Regions from separate parts of the Homo sapiens genome. Here all the other regions are linked to region 5. The links are contacts of gene promoters, found by promoter capture Hi-C in blood cells and fetal thymus (Javierre and others, 2016). All regions are on one chromosome and are shown on one strand. The core of a region is centred on a gene start or on the middle of the fragment in contact, and the rest is flanking DNA. Distances in the headings are between cores, read along the strand shown. Region 1 overlaps AIM2 (absent in melanoma 2). Region 2 overlaps PYHIN1 (pyrin and HIN domain family member 1). Region 3 has its middle 2.0 kb from the start of PYDC5. Region 4 has its middle 10 kb from the start of AIM2. Region 5 holds the start of SPTA1 (spectrin alpha, erythrocytic 1). Region 6 has its middle 19 kb from the start of PYDC5.

What was found. Contacts are between HindIII fragments. The CHiCAGO score rates a contact against its expected background, and 5 or more counts as called.
Region 1: a contact is called between a fragment that was not itself captured here and the fragment with the promoter of SPTA1 in region 5, in 2 of 17 cell types (megakaryocytes and erythroblasts). The highest score is 6.9, in megakaryocytes.
Region 2: a contact is called between a fragment that was not itself captured here and the fragment with the promoter of SPTA1 in region 5, in 2 of 17 cell types (erythroblasts and megakaryocytes). The highest score is 8.2, in erythroblasts.
Region 3: a fragment that was not itself captured here is called in contact with the fragment with the promoter of SPTA1 in region 5 in 2 of 17 cell types (megakaryocytes and erythroblasts); the score reaches 13.8 in megakaryocytes.
Region 4: a fragment that was not itself captured here is called in contact with the fragment with the promoter of SPTA1 in region 5 in 1 of 17 cell types (megakaryocytes); the score reaches 5.8 in megakaryocytes.
Region 6: a fragment that was not itself captured here is called in contact with the fragment with the promoter of SPTA1 in region 5 in 2 of 17 cell types (erythroblasts and megakaryocytes); the score reaches 12.7 in erythroblasts.

What each region holds. Positions count from the first base shown.
Region 1 is chr1:159,069,205-159,072,093 of GRCh38, forward strand. The region is part of intron 2 of AIM2 (absent in melanoma 2); the gene reads right to left. Among named protein-coding and RNA genes, the nearest start is that of AIM2, 6.1 kb to the right of the region's middle. The HindIII fragment of the contact is 683 bases long and covers 1,091-1,773 here.
Region 2 is chr1:158,966,632-158,969,664 of GRCh38, forward strand. The region is part of intron 7 of PYHIN1 (pyrin and HIN domain family member 1); the gene reads left to right. Among named protein-coding and RNA genes, the nearest start is that of PYDC5, 35 kb to the right of the region's middle. The HindIII fragment of the contact is 1,597 bases long and covers 722-2,318 here.
Region 3 is chr1:159,003,266-159,006,165 of GRCh38, forward strand. It overlaps a transcript of IFI16 not described here. Among named protein-coding and RNA genes, the nearest start is that of PYDC5, 2.0 kb to the left of the region's middle. RefSeq lists enhancers at 2,122-2,647, 2,648-2,900. The HindIII fragment of the contact is 4,916 bases long and covers 1-2,900 here.
Region 4 is chr1:159,085,492-159,088,554 of GRCh38, forward strand. It overlaps a transcript of AIM2 not described here. Among named protein-coding and RNA genes, the nearest start is that of AIM2, 10 kb to the left of the region's middle. The HindIII fragment of the contact is 5,350 bases long and covers 1-3,063 here.
Region 5 is chr1:158,685,454-158,688,523 of GRCh38, forward strand. SPTA1 (spectrin alpha, erythrocytic 1) reads right to left here and starts at 1,262. Exons shown (of 52, transcript NM_003126.4): 1 at 1,041-1,262. The coding sequence starts at 1,064. The HindIII fragment of the contact is 3,907 bases long and covers 1-3,070 here.
Region 6 is chr1:158,982,767-158,985,700 of GRCh38, forward strand. It overlaps a transcript of PYHIN1 not described here. Among named protein-coding and RNA genes, the nearest start is that of PYDC5, 19 kb to the right of the region's middle. The HindIII fragment of the contact is 1,925 bases long and covers 720-2,644 here.

The DNA.
Region 1 (2,889 bases), core at 182-2,681, 380 kb after region 5:
ACACTTTGGAAAATGGTTTGGGACGCTATTTATTAAAATTCAATATCTACTTACCTTAACATCCAGTAATACCATTCACAGGTGTACAGTCAAGAGAAACACACATACAAATACAAACATACAAAGATAAGTATATAAGGCTTATAATGTACATAAATATTCATAGCAGCATTATTCATAATGGCCTCCAATGACTAAAATAACAATAAAAATACACCAATTCTCTCTCTCTATATATATGTATATCAGTTTATGTGTATATGTAATTATCAATTAAATGGAATCTTATGTAGTAGTGAAAATGAATAAACTGCTGCTATGAAACAAGGGCTGATTTCTTTCTTTTTTTTTTTTTTGAGACGGAGTCTCACTCCGTCACCCAAGCTGGAGTGCAGTGGCGCAATCTTGGCTCACTGCAACCTCTGCCTCCTGGGTTCAAGTGATTCTCCTGCCTCAGCCTCCTGAGTAGCTGGGATTACAGGCTCATGCCACCACGCCTGACTAATTTTTGTATTTTTTTAGTAAAGATGGGGTTTCACCATGTTGTTAAGGCTGGTCTTGAGCTCCTCACCTCGTGATGCGCCCACCTCAGCCTCCCAAAGTGTTGGGATTACAGGCGTGAGCCACCGCGCCTGGCCACAGATTTCTAATTATGTTCTACAAGGCCTTGCATTTTCCTTCTGTCGAGGGGACCCCATCCTGCCCTCTGAAGATTCTCTGTACTGCAGCCATACTGGCCTTCTTTCAGTCCTCAAGCAAGTCAACACCTGCTGTCAGAGGGATTTTCACACAGTGTTCCCTCTGACTGAAGGTACCTTTAACTCCTATGCATTTTTCACAGCTTAGTGCAAGTCACTTCCCCATGGAACCCGCTTTGACCAACACCAACTCTAACTCCTGGCTTATGTTAATGCTCCTTTGACACATGCTGCTGAAGAACCATCTTCCTTTCCATCAGAACATTTGTCTCAGTTAGTTACCTGTCTCAGTTAATTTGCCTGTAAGAAAAATATCTACTTTCCCTTTAGAGTATAAACTGTACAAAATTTGGATTTGTTTTTAAAACCTTGTTTTATCATAAGAACCTAAAAGCTTTCCTTGTACCTATTAGCAATTCAATGGATATTTACTGAATGGATGAAGAAATGGATGGATGGGTGGCATGTTGGCTCCTCACTAATGCCTACAAAATGCAGTCGTATACTCTGGCTGGGCTCCTCCACGTCTATGGTCAGGTTATATGTTATCGTGAAAAGCCAACTCCTACTCCTGATTTTTAAAAAGACCATGTAACAAGATGGCCATGTTTGATGACTTAAGGCACTCTCAGGCAGAAGAGGGCCTGGGAAATTATTAGATGTTATTTCTGATAGAATTTGAACAATTCTGGACTGAAATAGCAAGGCAATCACTGATTTTACTAAAAAGAGAAACGATTTAATTATTAGAGCTAAGAGTAGAATGAACTGTCTTATGAGGTAGTAGGTACTCTGTCATTACCTTTCAAAGATCAGAAAGTGGTTGACTGTCTGACAGGGATATTGTAGCAGGATCTCTGCACTAGGAAGAAGTTAAACTAACCTTCCAATGGTAAGTTAGTTCCATGAAATTGGTTTCAGAAAGGTATGCAGATAAAGTCTCTCTTCTATGTTCACAGCATCGGAGAGAAAACAGCATCAAGGGAGGCGGAAGGAATCAACCTACCATTCTACCACATCACATCAGCCATATTTCATTTCACACACTGTGGTACCAATGCAATATTTGTGGACAAGCTTGTCTGCCAATTATAAATCTCTCATTTGCCTTAATAATCAGGTGCACATTGTTACTGATTATTTCATTTATCATTTTCAGCATTTTATTTTAATCTTGCAGGACTTTTGTGGACTTTGATCACATTTTCTCTTAGCTTCCTTTTTCTACGCTTATGTGTCCTTATATTTTCTCATCTTGCTTCATACAAAAGCTTCTCCTGTCTACTAATTATTGCCTCTGTCTTCATTAAAGATTCTCCAGGTATCTTCTACCTTCCATGAGGTGAGGTCATGAGTAGAATAGCATATAGCACTCTACATGCAGACATGCAATGGCAATGGAGAAGGATCACTTAACCAAGAATGACAGATTAACTGTTCAAAAAATAAAACAAAAACTGTTTTCCTAAAATAATAGAAATAGCATGGACACACAAAAATTTCCTACATTCAAAAGCGGCCTAAGTATGTCCGTGGATAGAATTTTAGAGCTATGAAGGAACTTAACTGCCTTCTTGTATAGCATGCAAGAAGCATACTTTGTGTTTTGTTGTTGTTGTTGTTTGAGACAGGGTCTCACTGTTGTTGCCCAGGCAGGAGTGCAGAGGTGTGATCTCAGCTCACTGCAACCTCTCCCTCCCAGGTTCAAGTGATTCTCGTGCCTCAGCCTCCCAAGTAGCTGGCATTACAGATGCCCGCCACCATGCCTGGCTAATTTTTGTATTTTTAGTAGAGACAAAGTTTCACTATGTTGGCCAGGCTGATCTCGAACTCCTGAACTCAAGTGATCCACCCGCCTTGGCCTCCCAAAGTGCTGGGATTAAAGGCGTGAGCCACTGCGCCTGGCCCAAAAGCATACTTTGAATCCTACAACTGTTACATTTGGAGACTCTCATTTGGGAGAGTCCTTGGATAATCTACTCCTGAGTTTCCAAGCTAGTCCCAAACTGGATCTTTTTTAGCTAAGCAGAATAACAAAATCCCAGAATCATTAGAATAGCAAAATGGGGAGAAGATTGTAGAAGGGGAAATTTTGTTCTATCCTGGTCAAAGAGAAGAATTAATTCTTGATTTATTACCAAAATAAAAGATATTTCTAAATATCTCAGCCTATGTTTGCCAATATGCCTAG
Region 2 (3,033 bases), core at 270-2,769, 280 kb after region 5:
GCAGAAACAGCTTTCAATAAAATGCAACATCCCTTCATGTTAAAAACCCTAAATACTCTAGACATTGAATGAACATACTTCAAAATAATAAGAACCATTTCCAACAAACCCACAGCCAACATCATACTTTATGGACAAAAGCTAGAAGCACTCCCCTTGAAAACTGGAACAAGACAAGGATGGCCTCCCTCACCATTCCTATTCAATAGAGTACTAGAAATCCCGGCCAGAGGAATCAGGCAAGATAAAGAAATAAAAGGCATCCAAGTAGGAAAAGAGAAAGTCAAACTATCACTTTTTGCAGATGACAAAATCCTGTATTTAGAAAAACCCATAGTCTCTGCAGAAAAGCTCTTTGATCTCATAAACAACTTCAGCAAAGTTTCAGGATACAAAATCAATATACAAAAATCAGTACACATTCCTATAAACCAACAACATCCAAGCTGAGAGTCAAAACAGGAATGCAATTCCGTTCACAATTGCCACAAAAATTGACAAAAGGATTTATTGTATTCATCAAGGTTGGAAATCACCATACTACATTTTTTTCTAGAGCAGGCTATTTGTGGGATGAGAGGGTTTTCTTAGAATGTAGTCTGTTTTGTATATTGTGTCTTATGTGACAGGCACTGTGTACATCACTTTGGATCCATTTTTCTCATAATCTTCAAATCAAAATAATGAGGCAATCATTTCATTTTTTACATAAGGAAACTGAAGCTTGGAGAGGTTAGGCAATCACAGAGAGGCTAACCAAGGAGGTAGTTATTAACAATAAGAATTACAAAACACTGCTCAAAGAAATGAAGGAACACAAACAAATAGGAAAAGTTCCATGCTCATGGATAGGAAAAATCAATATTATTAAAAATGGCCAGATTTCCCAAAGCAATGTACAGATTCAATGCTATTCCTATCAAACTACCAATGACATTCTTCACAGAATTAGAAAACACGATTTTAAAATTTATATAAAACCAAAAATGAACTTGAATAGTCAAAGCAATCCTAAGCAAAAAGAACAAAGCTGGAGGTATCACTTGACCCAACTTCAAACTATACTGCAAGGTTACAGTAACCAAAAGAGCATAGTACTGGTACAAAAACAGACACATAGACCAATGAAACAGAATAGACAGCCCAGAAATAAGGCCGCCCACCTACAATCACTGGATCTTTGACAAAGTTGACAATGACAAGCAATGGGATAAGGACTCCTTTTTCAATAAATGGTGCTGAGATAACTGGCTAGCCATATGCAGAAGATTAAAACTGGACCCCTTCCTTACACCATATACAAAAGTCAATTCAAGATGAATTGAAGGCTTCAGTGTAAAATCTAAAACTATAAAAACCCTGGAAGATGACCTAGAAAATACCATTCTGGATATAGGGCCTGGAAAAGACTTCGTTTTGAAGATGCCATAAACAATTACAACATAAAGAAAAAATGACAAATAGGACTTCATTAAACTAATGAACTTCTGCACAGCAAAAGAAATTACCAACAAAGTAATCAAACTATCTACAGAATGAGAAAAAAAAAATTGCAAACTTTGCATCCAACAAAGATCTGTTATCCAGAATCTATAAAGAATGTAAACCAATTTACAAGAAAAAAATGAGCCACCCCATTAAAAAGTGGGCAAAGGATGTGAACAGACCCTTCTCAATAGAAAACATACACATGGCCAACAAACATGAAAAAATGCTCAACATCACTAATTATTAGAGAAATGCAAATCAAAACCACAATGAGGTAACATCTCACACCAATCAGAATGACTGTTATTAAAAAGTCAAAAAATAACAGATACTGGTGAGCTTGCAGAGAAAAGGGAACACTTATATACTGCCAGTGGGAGTGTTAATTAGTTCAGCCATTGTGGAAAGCAGTGTGACAATTCCTCAAAGAACTTAGAACAGAACTCCCATTTGACCCAGCAATCCTAGTACTGGGCATATGCCCAAAGGAATATAAATTATTCTACCACAAAGACACATGCATGCATATGTTCATTGCACCACTATTCACAATAGCAAAGACATGGAATCACCCTAAATGTCCATTGACGTTAGACTGGATAAAGAAAGTGTGGCACATGCACACCATGGAATACTACACAGCCACAAAAAACAATAAGATCATGTCCTTTGCACCAACATGAATGGAGCTGGATGCCATTCTTATAAACAGAGCTAAACAATGAGAGAACACACGGACCCAAAGAGGAGAACAACAGACACTGGCGCCTACTTGAAGATGGAGGATGGGAAGAGGGAGAGGATGAAAAAACAATTCTTAGTGGGTATCAAGCTTAATACCTGGGTGATGAAATAATCTGTCCACCAAACCCCTGTGACATGCAGTTTACCTATGTAACAAACCTGCACATGTACCTCTGAACCTAAAATAAAAGTTAAAAAAATAATTTTTGGTCTTACAGTCAACATTCAAATCCAGCCTTAATGAACTCTAAAACTTAAGTATTTCATGGTCATATATTGCTTCCAGAGTCAGAATGTAGATGTTAAAATTTCTGAAATATTTTTCTATATATTTAAAGTCAGACATCGTTATGGTTTGAGTTTGTTTCCATAATTCAGGTTCTGCAAGGCTTCGCATGAGAAATTAGGTAACTGTGACTCACTATTTCGTTCTTTCTCTTTCACTGCCATGTTAAGGCCTATGAATCAGATGCCTATATCTTCAGTAAATGGGCAGGCAACTTGAAGCTAAGGTAAAAGGAAAACTGAGTCACTATCTTCCAATCTAGTATCTTACCCATTACCATATTGCACTCTGACCAACCTTCTTTCTGCATCACTAATACATGTGTACCAGTTGAAGACAGGACTCCTATGTAAGGAGTTCTCATTTTTACATTTTGTTTTGTTGCTGCTTTTGTTCTTTTTGACTGGTGAATTCCAATAATTCATATTTCTCTGTACACTTTCTAAAATTACTATTTGTGGATAGTGCTATCAATCTAACCTATTTGCCATCTTACTTCAGGTGGTTAGATGGAG
Region 3 (2,900 bases), core at 401-2,900, 320 kb after region 5:
TATTTTAATGTTTCTGCTATTAGTTATTTTTTCACGATAATTTAACTGGTGAATCCAGTTATCTATTTAGACAATAGATGTATTTTTATTCTGGCTATGTCATAATATTCTGCAATTACAAAATCACATAACACTTAAATTACTGCCGTAAAGCTAAGAAGAAATAACTTGCCATATTCCAAATTCCTAAAGGAGCTCGATCTCTGTTACCTAAGCAATCCCTCCTCTGTTTTGCTCTTTTGTGATTCTTAGGCTGGAATCACGTTTTGGCTCTATCAGCCTAAGGAGCAGTTAGCCACCTGTCACTGAGTTAGGGAACAAAAAGACCAAGGCGATAGGTATTTGCACCATAAACTTCTCCTATCTTGTATGTCCATAATTCTGTATTATTATTATTATTATTATTATGTTTTGAGACGGGGTCTCGCTTTGTCGCCCAGGCTGGAGTGCAGTGGCATGAGCTCGGCTCGCTGCAAGCTCCGCCTCCTGGGTTCACACCATTCTCCTGCCTCAGCCTCCCGAGTAGCTGGGACTATAGGCGCCCGCCACCATGCCCAGCTAATTTTTTGTATTTTTAGTAGAGACGGGGTTTCACTGTGTTAGCCAGGATGGTCTCGATCTCCTGACCTTGTGATCCGCCCGCCTCAGCCTCCCAAAGTGCTGGGATTACAGGCGTGAGCCACCGCGCCCAGCCAATTCTGTATTATTTTGCATTTCTGACACTCATGACTTGATACCTTAAACATTCAAACACATAGAAGCACTTATTTGTGTGAACAGCAGTTTCTTTCCTTGAACCAAAGATTGTCAACCCTTAATCTAAAACATAAAAGGAAATAAAATTCAAACACCACTTCTCCATTACTTGTAAATTTTATTTCTCTCTTCTTAATATATTAATACCCAAATTCCAGCCAAAATATTAAGGATGGATGTGGTGGCTTATGCCTGTAATCCCAGCACTTTGGGAGGCTGAGGTAGGTAGATTGTTTGAGCTCTGGAGTTTGAGATCAGCCTGGGCAACATGGCAAGACCTTATCTCCAAAAGAAAAAAAAAAGGTTAAGAAATCTAAATTTCAGTTAATTTTGCCCTTATTGCTAAGTAAATCTGAGTAAATTATAGATGTTAGTAATTTGGGGTAAGAATTCCCAAAACCAGCCGGGCATCGTGACTCACGCCTCTAATCCCAGCACTTTGGGAGGCCGAGGTGGGTGGGTCACTTGAGATCAGGAGTTTGAGACCAGCCTGGCCAGCATGGTGAAACCTTGTCTTTACTGAAAATACAGAAATTAGCCAGGCTTGATGGTGCATGCGTGTAATTCTGGCTACTTAGGAGGCTGAAGCAGGAGAATCACTTGAACCTGGGAGGCAGAGGTTGCAATGAGCCGAGATCGTGCCATCACAACAGAGCAAGACTCCGTCTCAAAAGAAAAAAAATTCCCAAAACCAGATGTTTAGGGTGGAGAGTTCATTACTGACAACAGTAGAGAATCTCATCTTCAATTTTAGAGATAAATTATATCAAGGGAAATTTTGACAGCCAAAGTGAAGTCCTGAAATTAAACAGAGTAAAGAAATTATCAATCTAGTAAAGATCCTCAAAGAATGCTTTCTGGAGAACAGTTTTAGATAAAATAAGCAAATAAAGAATGAAGATAGCAGAGATAAAGCCGGAGAAGTAGAAACTATCAATGTTTTTACCCCCTTCAAAAATAATGTTGAAACTTAGTACCCAATGCAACAGTGTTGGGAGCTTGGGCCAAATGGGAGGTATTTAGATCATGAGAATTTCACTCACGTAAATAGACTGATTAATGCCACTCTAACGGGCATGTAGGGGGTGAATTCGCCCCGTTTGTCATGTGAGGACACAGCAAGAAGGCCTCACCAGATACTGATGCTTGACCTTGGACTTCCACCTCAAGTACTGTGAGAAATACATTTCTGTTCTGTATAAATTACCCAGTCTATAGTATTCCATTACAGCAGCACTAAATGGACTAAGACAGTGGGAAAGTATGCATGTCCATTACAGGGAGGGTCAGAGAACAGGAGTTTTCATGAACCAGAAACTTCTTTCACTCATATTTTCTCCATGAGACATGCAATAAACAGATGAATGATGCCAACTCTGGCCTTGTACAGTATATCATGACTGGTTCACATCACTCCCCAGGTTTCCATATGCATTCACTCTCCTCTCCTGCCTCAACACTGAGTCTCTTTTATTCCACTCCAAAGTAAAGAGGTCATCCCTAGAACTACAGAAGCTCTTTCTGCCAACAGAGTTGTCTGGAGTTTATGGCATTAGCTTTGAGCAACAGGAAAAGTAGAATACAAAACTGCAATACAGAAACTACAAAATTTCAAGGAAGGACTGGCTGAGAGAAGCCTTGAGGTTGGAGGGGAAGGAATGGCATTGTTGTGAAAACGTGTTCTGGGAACTGAGCTTAAATTGAATTGTAGGAGGCTGCAGTCCCACTGGAAAATGCATACTGGCACCAAGATGACTGCTGCTTCCAGGAACATCCTCCCACTCCTTAGCAATGTGGAACAGATTGAAGGAAGCTCAAACAATCCATTTAAGCAGGAAGTAAATAGATTAAGAGAGCAACCAGATGGCCTAAGGCACTATCGGTATAGCTATCCCCACCCCTCAGCGCCCCCATCAGCTTTTCCTTCCTTGTTTCTTCTCACTGTCTGAAAGACTACTCAGGCGTGCACTGCGAGGTGGAGATCTGACTTCTCTTGTTCCCGCTTAAGACTGCCTCCTGTGTAAGTTTCTGCTATCTAGATCTTTGACTACCAACCAGCCAGGAGTGGTCTGCCTCTTCTTTGGTCTGAGCTTGCCTTGTGCTTATATTGTTGTACCCAAGCGAGTTAAGAAAATACCCCACAC
Region 4 (3,063 bases), core at 370-2,869, 400 kb after region 5:
GTGGGTTTAGCGGTGGAGGTGTTGCGTTTGAGGTGCCCAAGAGATATGTAAATGGAGATGTTTAATTGAATATATAAGCCTGGAGCTTAGACGAAAGGTCAGAACTCCAGACAGTAACGTGGGCAGCATCCAAATACAGATGGCAGCTGATGCTGCAGAACAGGATGAGACTGTCAGGAGAGGCCATCATGAAGGAGAAGGGGGCAGGCCTCCAAGCCACGTAGAGCTCAGACAGCAAGTGGTTGGGCTAAAGAGGAAGAGTCAACAAGGAAGACTTACAAAGAAAGGTCAGAGCAGTAGAGAAAAGAAGCCAGACCTGGTGGAGTGCTGGAAGGCAAGGCAAAGAGTATTTCAAGGAAGATGGCACTCAGTGACGTAGTGTGTACTTGAGTATCGCTAAGAGAGTAGATCTTAAATGTTCTAACACACACACACTATGTGAGGTGGCAGACATGTTTATTAACTTTATCATTTCATAATGTACACAAATATCAAAACATCACGTTGTATACTGTAAATATACAATTTTTATTTGTTGATTATACCTCAATAAAGCTGGTGGTGGAGTGTGAGGGGAAAGAAGGATAGGGCTCAGATCTAGCAAATCCTGTTTCAGATCTAGGAAACATCCAACAGATAATTATTTGCTTCCACCAGATTTTACCCATCATTCTATGATGTTTAATTTGGTTTGCTCTACTTATATTTGATATCAATGTACTGAAACAGGGAGCAGGTAAAAAGGCAACAAGGGTGAGGCAAAAATATTAATAAAAGCCAGAGAACAGATCCTAAAGCTCTTCCAGCTTCTGAACCACCTATCTTTGTCCTCGTTGTCAGTGTCTCTCCTCTTTCCACCTCATAAACATGGATGCTTTGTTTGTGACATGAGGCTGCCTCTGTTTTCCTGTTGGCCAGCTCATCAGAGCGCTCTGGGGCCAGGCCCTTCCTGGCCTCCCTCTGCCCACATACACTAGGCTCCAGGTGAATCTGCACATACCTCGCCCTCTACTTCTCCTCCCCCATCTGGCTAATTCTTACTCACCCCCAGGTCCTTCTTTATATCTCACTTTCTCCAAAATTGTTTTCAAATCCTGCAAGCCCAAGTCTGAGCTAAGTGCTCCTGTTGTTTATTTTCCCATCATCTCCAGGACTTTCCATCACAGCAATAAAGTGGAAAGAAGTAAACTCACAGGCTTGGGCACTACACCCGTGCAAGTTAAAATCCCTGCTCCACCAACCTGTGTGGCCTTGAGTAAGTCTCTTAGTCTATTGAAGGCTGTCAGTCCCTAATCCTAGAAGGTGTTGTGAAAATTAAGAGTTTACATGTTTAAAACACTAAGCAAAGTAACTGAAAGAAAGAACTCAGTAAACTCTATCCATTATTATTATGACTATCAATATATTGTTTTATGAGGGCTAATGTCTTGTCTGCCTTTTTCAGTGAAGTGTAAACTCCTTAGGGGCAGAAACTGAATCTGTATAAAATAATTGCAAACTCAAATCACCAAGACTCACCACCTTAAAACTCCAAGTGTACATTTGAAACTTTGTGCTACACATTTTTATTTAAATACATAATGAAAAATTCAACCTCTACATATCCTAAATCATTGATTGTCTTAGGACTCTAAGTACTTTCTCATTCTTACTTCCCTTTTACTGTTAATGGAACCACAACTCTCCCACTGACCTAGGCTCCCAACCCAACAGTCTCTACTTCTTCGCTTTTCCTTGACTCCTACACTACTCAATGTCCTTTATATTGACAATACTAGTGATAGGGCTGAGTCAGGGTGATGGTAAGGATGATGGCAGTCAGGTGAGGTTGTGATAAAAAAAAAAAATGATCACCATGGCTGAGACTAAGTTAACCTTTAAGTGTCAGTGGAAGGAACCATACTTGTGCTGAACTGTGGAAGTATACCTGAAGACAAGGATGGGGGGATCAGGAGGACGATTCTGGTATTTATAGCCCACCATTTATATTAATCAATTATTAATAAATTCTTAATAACCTATGATGCCATCTGTGTGTTATAAAAAGCAATGCCAGGCTTTTTCTTTATTCTGGATAAAGTCTTTTTTTTTTTTTTTTTGAGATGGAGTCTTGCTCTGTCACCCGGGCTGGAGTGCAGTGGCGTGATCTCGGCTCACTGCAACCTCTGCCTCCTGGGTTCAAGCGATTCTCATGCTTCAGCCTCTGGAGTACCTTGGATTACAAGTGCCCACCACCACGCCCAGCTAATTTTTGTATTTTTAGTAGAGACGGGGTTTCACCACGTTGGCCAGGCTAGTCTTGAGCTCCTGACCTCAAGTGATCCGCCTATCTTGGCCCCCCAAAGTGCTGGAATTAGTTGTGAGCCACCGTGCCCAGCCAAGTCTACTTTTTTTAAATGTAATAGTGATAAGTGGCAGAGTTTGGTAGATTTCTGCATTGCCAGAGTGATCCTTTGATCCCTAAGTTTTTTTGCATAATTAAAAATTTTTCAGTTTATTCTTGCTTCTTTCCTGTTTCTCATTTAACAAAGTAGATGAAGGGAAATTACAAAATAGTGGAAAGATTTAATATAACTGGTGATAAGTTGAGTCTCTAGGTGGAACATCGGGTGGACAGAAAAAGAGGAAGAGGCATAGATGAGGCACAGGATGCTTTTGATGTTATCAGGCCTGCTTGAGGTCTGGGGGTGACTGAACTGCCTCTGGAAAATGGCTTTGAGGTATGTGACTGTGAGATGTGAGACACAGAAGTTATGTCTCTGACACTTGGATCCTACATCTTCCTGAACATGTGGCCAAGAAGTTTTTTCAATAAAAGAACATGCCTTAGAACCATGAGAGGAAGGAATGCCAGGATTCAGGAGCTGCATGAGTCAGCTGGGCCCGATGTTTGCTGCTTCATAATGCCAAGGGCATGACTTACAGCTTCAGTCTGGTTTTCCCCAATTCAATATCAAAACATATGCCTCCATGGAGGCAAATGATGTTCCTCCACCAAGAACCAGCTTCAATGAAACTGCAGTGTCTAAGTAACTGCAGCTTTTTCTTTCTATGTATTGATGT
Region 5 (3,070 bases), core at 12-2,511:
TCCTGAAGTTTCTAGGGACTATTGTCAGAAGAGCTGTAGTATATTTACGTAATTTTTAACCAGACATAGCTTCTGTTTAGGTTAAAAATTCTTGATTATCCAGAAGACTCTCCTCACTTTTTACATAAATTTGTGCTAGCATTTAAGTTCTATAGATATAATTATATTGGACTGATCATGGAGCAAGTTTAAATCAGCAAAATCACATAATTTCAGATAGATAAAAAGAAATATAATGTTATTGCTTTCAAGGGCTAAAAAGGTGTTGAGAAGTGCTTATTATTTTTAACTTAATTTAATAAATAATTAAGAATGGCTTGCAATTAATTTAGTTAATGATATATGCAACAGTTTGAAAATTTTGTTTCCTTCATACTTAAAAATAAATCTCATATATTTACTCTTTACTTGCTTTACTCACAAACACTATAAATCAAAAGTTCAGCTATCTTCTGCCCAATTGTCACAAATTTCAAATTATTAGCATGTCTGCAATTTATTTTTGAAATATAAAAACTTTTACTCTAAAACAATATATAAGTATCCTTTTCCCAGAGTGGGAGCCAACCTGTTTGTGACAATATCCAGCAAAATCACCATAGGGTTCACCTTCATTCTTCTGGATATGGATACCATTTTCCCTAGCTTACCTCAGCCAAAATGTTTAATATAGAGTTTAAATTTTAATCTCCCATTATTCCTCCTAAGTATAATTGCTACTCTGTGAATTGCCATTACTGGCATGGCTATAGAATTAGATCATTACATGGAGACTCACGTTGTTACTAGGTGTTATTTAGCTTCAATCTCCCTACTTATTCTCTCTGGGAACCGACTTAAGTCATTACTGGGTCTTGGTGCTGCACAGACATAAGCTCAAGGTTATTGTTCACAAAAAATAGTTAAAAGTAAAATTATCTATTTGTTAAAAGCCAAATAATTATTAATGTTCCTGGGAAAGATAGTATAGAAAGTTTAAAGGAAACATCTTTCCTAATAATATTAATGACAAATTGCATGGAAGAGAAATATGTACTTACGGTTTCCTTTGGAAATTGCTCCATTTTTCCTAAAGGTTTAGAACCTGGCAAGATAAAATGTGTCAGAGAGAGAGAGAGAGAGAAATAATTCAAATGGAACTGTCCAGTCGAATTCAAATAGAAATATAGAAACGTTAAGTATGTGGGGGAAAAAAAAAAACCTCTTGCTTGGTCCTAGAATCCCATCAGCCATACACAATCGACATTATCTTTAGAAGACATACTCAGCTGAGGCAACTGCTAAGTTTTACAGATACTGGGTGACTCAGCAGTTTTGGGAGGCTCTGGCTTTCAAAGTTACTCAATAAGACTTAAAAAATGAAAGTAAGGTTTTTGGATGAAAAATTAGAAAAAAAACCCCATATATTTATAGGAAATACAGCTCAACAACTTCATCCAACTCAACTGCAGATTTTTCACAGTCTTTAAGTCAACGAATTATCCTGGCTTTTTCTAGAGAGTCTTTCACAAAATAAGATTTTATTCCTAACCTCAACAATTTGGTCTTTAAAAATCTGATTTAGTTGTACTCTTAATCATTTAAATGGAAGGAACAAAAAAAGTTATATGATGTGTTCATTAATATTTTGTAAAACAAAAATTAGGATACCTTATTTGACAAACCAATGATGTCACAAAAAAGTTGAAAATATGGCTGACTTCTGATATATATGGTATAAATCATCCTACTGTATGTATTAATTTTAATGGAGAACAAAAAGAGGTAGACTTTTTCCATAGGCATAGTTATTTTAGACTAACTTACAAAAATGAAACAAACAAGCAAAAAGAAAATAGTGGGATGCTCTTAGACCTTTCTACAAGCCAGTGGGGCTATCCATGCCAAACTTCATTCCAGTGTAAATGCAGCTTGAATAATCTAACTTCCATGATCTACAAGAGAAGATTTTGATTCTACATTTGTGGTTTCCCCTGTTCTTGGATCTCACATAGAAAAACTGAGAGTCCTTTACATTCTCTTCTTGAAAGTCTGGATTACTTTACTTTTCCATATAGTTTCATTATATTCAAGTCAAATTTAGTAGTAAAGGCAGGAACATAATTTTAGAGACTGCACTATAACACATGCACTGAGGAATATTTGTCTGAAGTTGGGATAAGGAGAGGAAATTATTTTATCTTTAAGAGAAAAGAATCAACATCTATGAAATATTTATATATTAACATGATCAATTTACATTAATTTCTAATCTTTAAAAATTCTGTGAGGCAGGTATTATCATACCCGTCTTTATGTGAGAAAACAGTCCCTAAAAAACAAAGTTTCATTCTATGGTGATTTGGTTTGAAAGTATTTAAATAGTCAAATCCATATCAATATGATTATCATGGCACTCTGCTCCTTATTTTTTTAGTCAATCTTCTCTTAGTCCATCAACATTATTTGTTCTGTTTCCCTGTTCCAGAATCATCTTAGCAAGAATGCCAAACATGTGATAACCTTGTGACCAAAGAAATAGTATGGCCCATTGTGAATAGTGCCACAATATACATATGTGTGCATGTGTTTTTATAGTAGAATGATTTATAATCCTTTGGGTATATAGCCAGTAATGGGATTGCTGGGTCAAATGGTATTTATGGTTCTAGATCCTTGAGGAATTGCCACACTGTCTTCCACAATGGTTGAACTAACTTACACTCCCACCAACTGTGTAAAAGCATTCCTATTTCTCCACATTGTCTCCAGCATCTGCTGTTTCCTGACTTTTTAATGATCGCCATTCTAACTGGCATGAGATGGTATCTCATTGTGGTTTTGATTTGCATTTCTCTAATGACCAGTTATGATGAGCTTTTTTTCATATGTTTGCTGACTGCATAAATATCTTCTTTTGAGAAGTGTCTATTCATATCCTTTGCTCACTTTTTGATGGGGTCATTTGTTTTTTTCCTGTAAATTTGTTTAAGTTCCTTGTAGATTCTGGATATTAGCCCTTTGGAACCAACCTGAATGCCTATCAGTGAAAGACTGGATAAAGAAAATGTGGTACCTATACACTATGGAA
Region 6 (2,934 bases), core at 432-2,931, 300 kb after region 5:
CATGAGAATGAAATGTCTTTCCATTTGTTTGTATCATCTCTAATTTCTTTTAGCAGCATTTTGTAACTCTTGTTGTAGAAATCTTTTACCTCCCAGGTTAGCTGTATTCCTATGTGTTTATTCTTTGTGTGGCTATTGTGAAAGGAACTATGTTCTTGGTTTGGCTTTCAGCTTGGGTATTATTAGTTGTATAGAAATGCTACTAATTTTTGTACATTGATTTTGTATCCTGAGACTTTGCTGAAGTTGTTTATAATTTCTGGGAAATTTGGGGCAAAGGCTATGGGGTTTTCTGGGTATAGAATCATATTACCTGCAAAAGGAGGTAGTTTGACTTCCTTTCTTTCTATTTGGACGTCTTTTATTTTTTTTTCTCTTGCCTGACTGCTCTGGCTAGAACTTCCAGTGCTATGTTGAACCAGGAGTAGTGAGAGTAGGCAACTTTGTCTTGTTCTGGTTCTCAAGAGGTATGATTTCAGCTTTTGCCTATTTGTGATATGATGTTGGCTGTGGTTTTGTCATAGATGTCTCATTTTGAGGTATGTTCCTTTGATACCTAGTTTGTTGAGGGTTTTTAACATGAAAGAATGTTGAATTTATTGAAACCTTTTCTGCATCTATTTAGATAATCACGTGATTTTTGTTTTTAGTTCTGTTTATGTGATAAATCACATTTACCAATTTGCGTATGTTGAACCAACTTTGCATTCCAGGGGTAAAGCTTACTTGATCATGGTGGCTTAGCTTTTGCTGTGCTGCTGGATTTAGTTTGCTAGTATTTTTTTTTGAGGACTTTTGCATCAATATTTATCAGGCATATTGTCCTGAATTTGTTTTTCCTTTGTGTTTCTGTCAGGTTTTGGTATCAGAATAATGCTGACCTCATAGAATGATTCAGGGCAGAGTCTCCGCTCCTCAATATTTTGGAATAATTTTGGTAGGATTGGTATCAGCTCCTCCTTATCTATCAGGTAGAATTCAGATGTGAATCTGTCTGATCCATGGCTTTTGTTGGTTTGTAGGTATTTTATTATGGATTCAATTTCAGAACTTGTTATTGATCTGTTTAGGTATTCAATGTCTTCCTGGTTCAATCTTGGCAGGTTGTATGTTTTCAGGAATTTATCTGTTTCTTCTAGATTTTCTAGTTTTTCAGCATAGAAATTGTTCATAATGGTCTTTGAGAGTTTTTGTATTTCTGTGGGTTCCATGGTAATGTCCCCTTTGTCATTTCTAATTGTATTTATTTGGATCTTCTCCTGTTTTTTTTTTTTTTTTTGTATATTAATCTGGCTAGTGGTCTATATATCTTATTCTTTCAAAAAACCAATTTTTAGTTTTCTTAATTATTTTTGTGAATTTTCACATCTCAATTTTATTTGGTTCAACTTAGATTTTGATTATTATTTTTCTTCTGCTAGTTTGGGGGTTGGTTTCCTTTTGTTTTTTCTAGTTCCTGTAAATGTGATGTTAGGTATAAATTTAAGATATTTCTGACTTTTTGATGTAGGCCTTTAGTGCTATAAACTTTTCTCTTAACACTGCTTTAGCTGTGTCCCAGAGACTCTGATATATTGTATTTTTGTTTTCATTAGTTTCAAAGATTTCTTGATTTCTGCATTAATTTAATTTATTACCCAAAAGTCATTCAGGAGTAAGTTGTTTAATTTCCAAATACTTCTATGATTTTCAGAGATCTTCTTGGTATTGATTTGTATTTTTGTTGCACTGTGATCTGAGAGTGTGGTTGATATAATTTCTGTTTTTTGAATTTCCTGAGCATTGCTTTATGGCCAAGCATGTGGCCAAGCATGTGGCACAGAGTATGTGCCATGTGCAGATGAGAAGAATGTATATTCTGTTGTTGAGTGGAATGTTCCTTATATGTCTGTTAGGTCAATTTAGTCAAGTGTGAAATTTTGTTCCTGAATATCTTTGTTAGTTTTCTCCCTCAATGATTTATCTAACAATGTTAGTAGGGTGTTGTATTCTCCCACTATTATTGTGAGGTTAGCTAGTTCTCTTCATAGGTCTCTAAGAACTTGTTTTATGAATCTGGTTGTGCCAGTGCTGAATGCACACATCTTTAGGATAGTTAAGTCTTGTTTGTAGAATTGAACTTTTTATCATTATGTGATGCCCTTCTTCATCCTCTTTGATAGCTTTTGGTTTAAGGTCTGTTTTTTTTTTCCTGAAATAAAAGAGCAACCCCTGCTCTATTTTGTTTGTTTTCCATTTGCTTTATAGATATTCCTCCATCCATTTAATTTAAGCCTGTGTCTTTACATGTAAGGTGGGTCTCTTGAAGACAGCATGTAATTGAGTCTTGCTTCTTTATCCAACTTACCATTCTGTGCCTTTTAAGTGGAGTGGTTAGCCTGCTTATGTTCAAGGTTAATATTGATATGTAAGGATTTGATCCTGTCATAGTGTTATTAGCTGGTTGTTATGTAGACTTGATTGTATAGTTGCATATTGTGTCAGTGGAATATTTACTTAAGTGTGTTGTTTTGTGGCAGGTAGCAGCCTTTTGTTTCCATGTTCAGCACTCCCTGAAGGACCTCTTATAAGGCAGGCCTAATGGTAACAAATTCGCTTAGTGTTTGTTTGTCTGAAAAGGATTATGTTTCTTTTTCACTTACAAAGCTTGGTTCGGCTGGATATGAAATCATGGTTAGAATTTCTTTTGTTTAAGAATGCTGAATGTAGGCCTTTAATCTTTTCTGGCTTGAAAAATTTCTGCTGAAAGGTCCACTGTTAGTGTGATAAGGGTTCCCTTTGTACATGATCTGCCTCTTCTCTTTTGCTGCCTTTCATATGTTTTATTTACCTTGATCTTGGAGAATTGGATAACTATGTGTCTTAGGGATTGTCATCTTGTGTAATATCTTGCTGGGGTACTCTGAATTTCCTGAATTTACATGTCAACCTCTC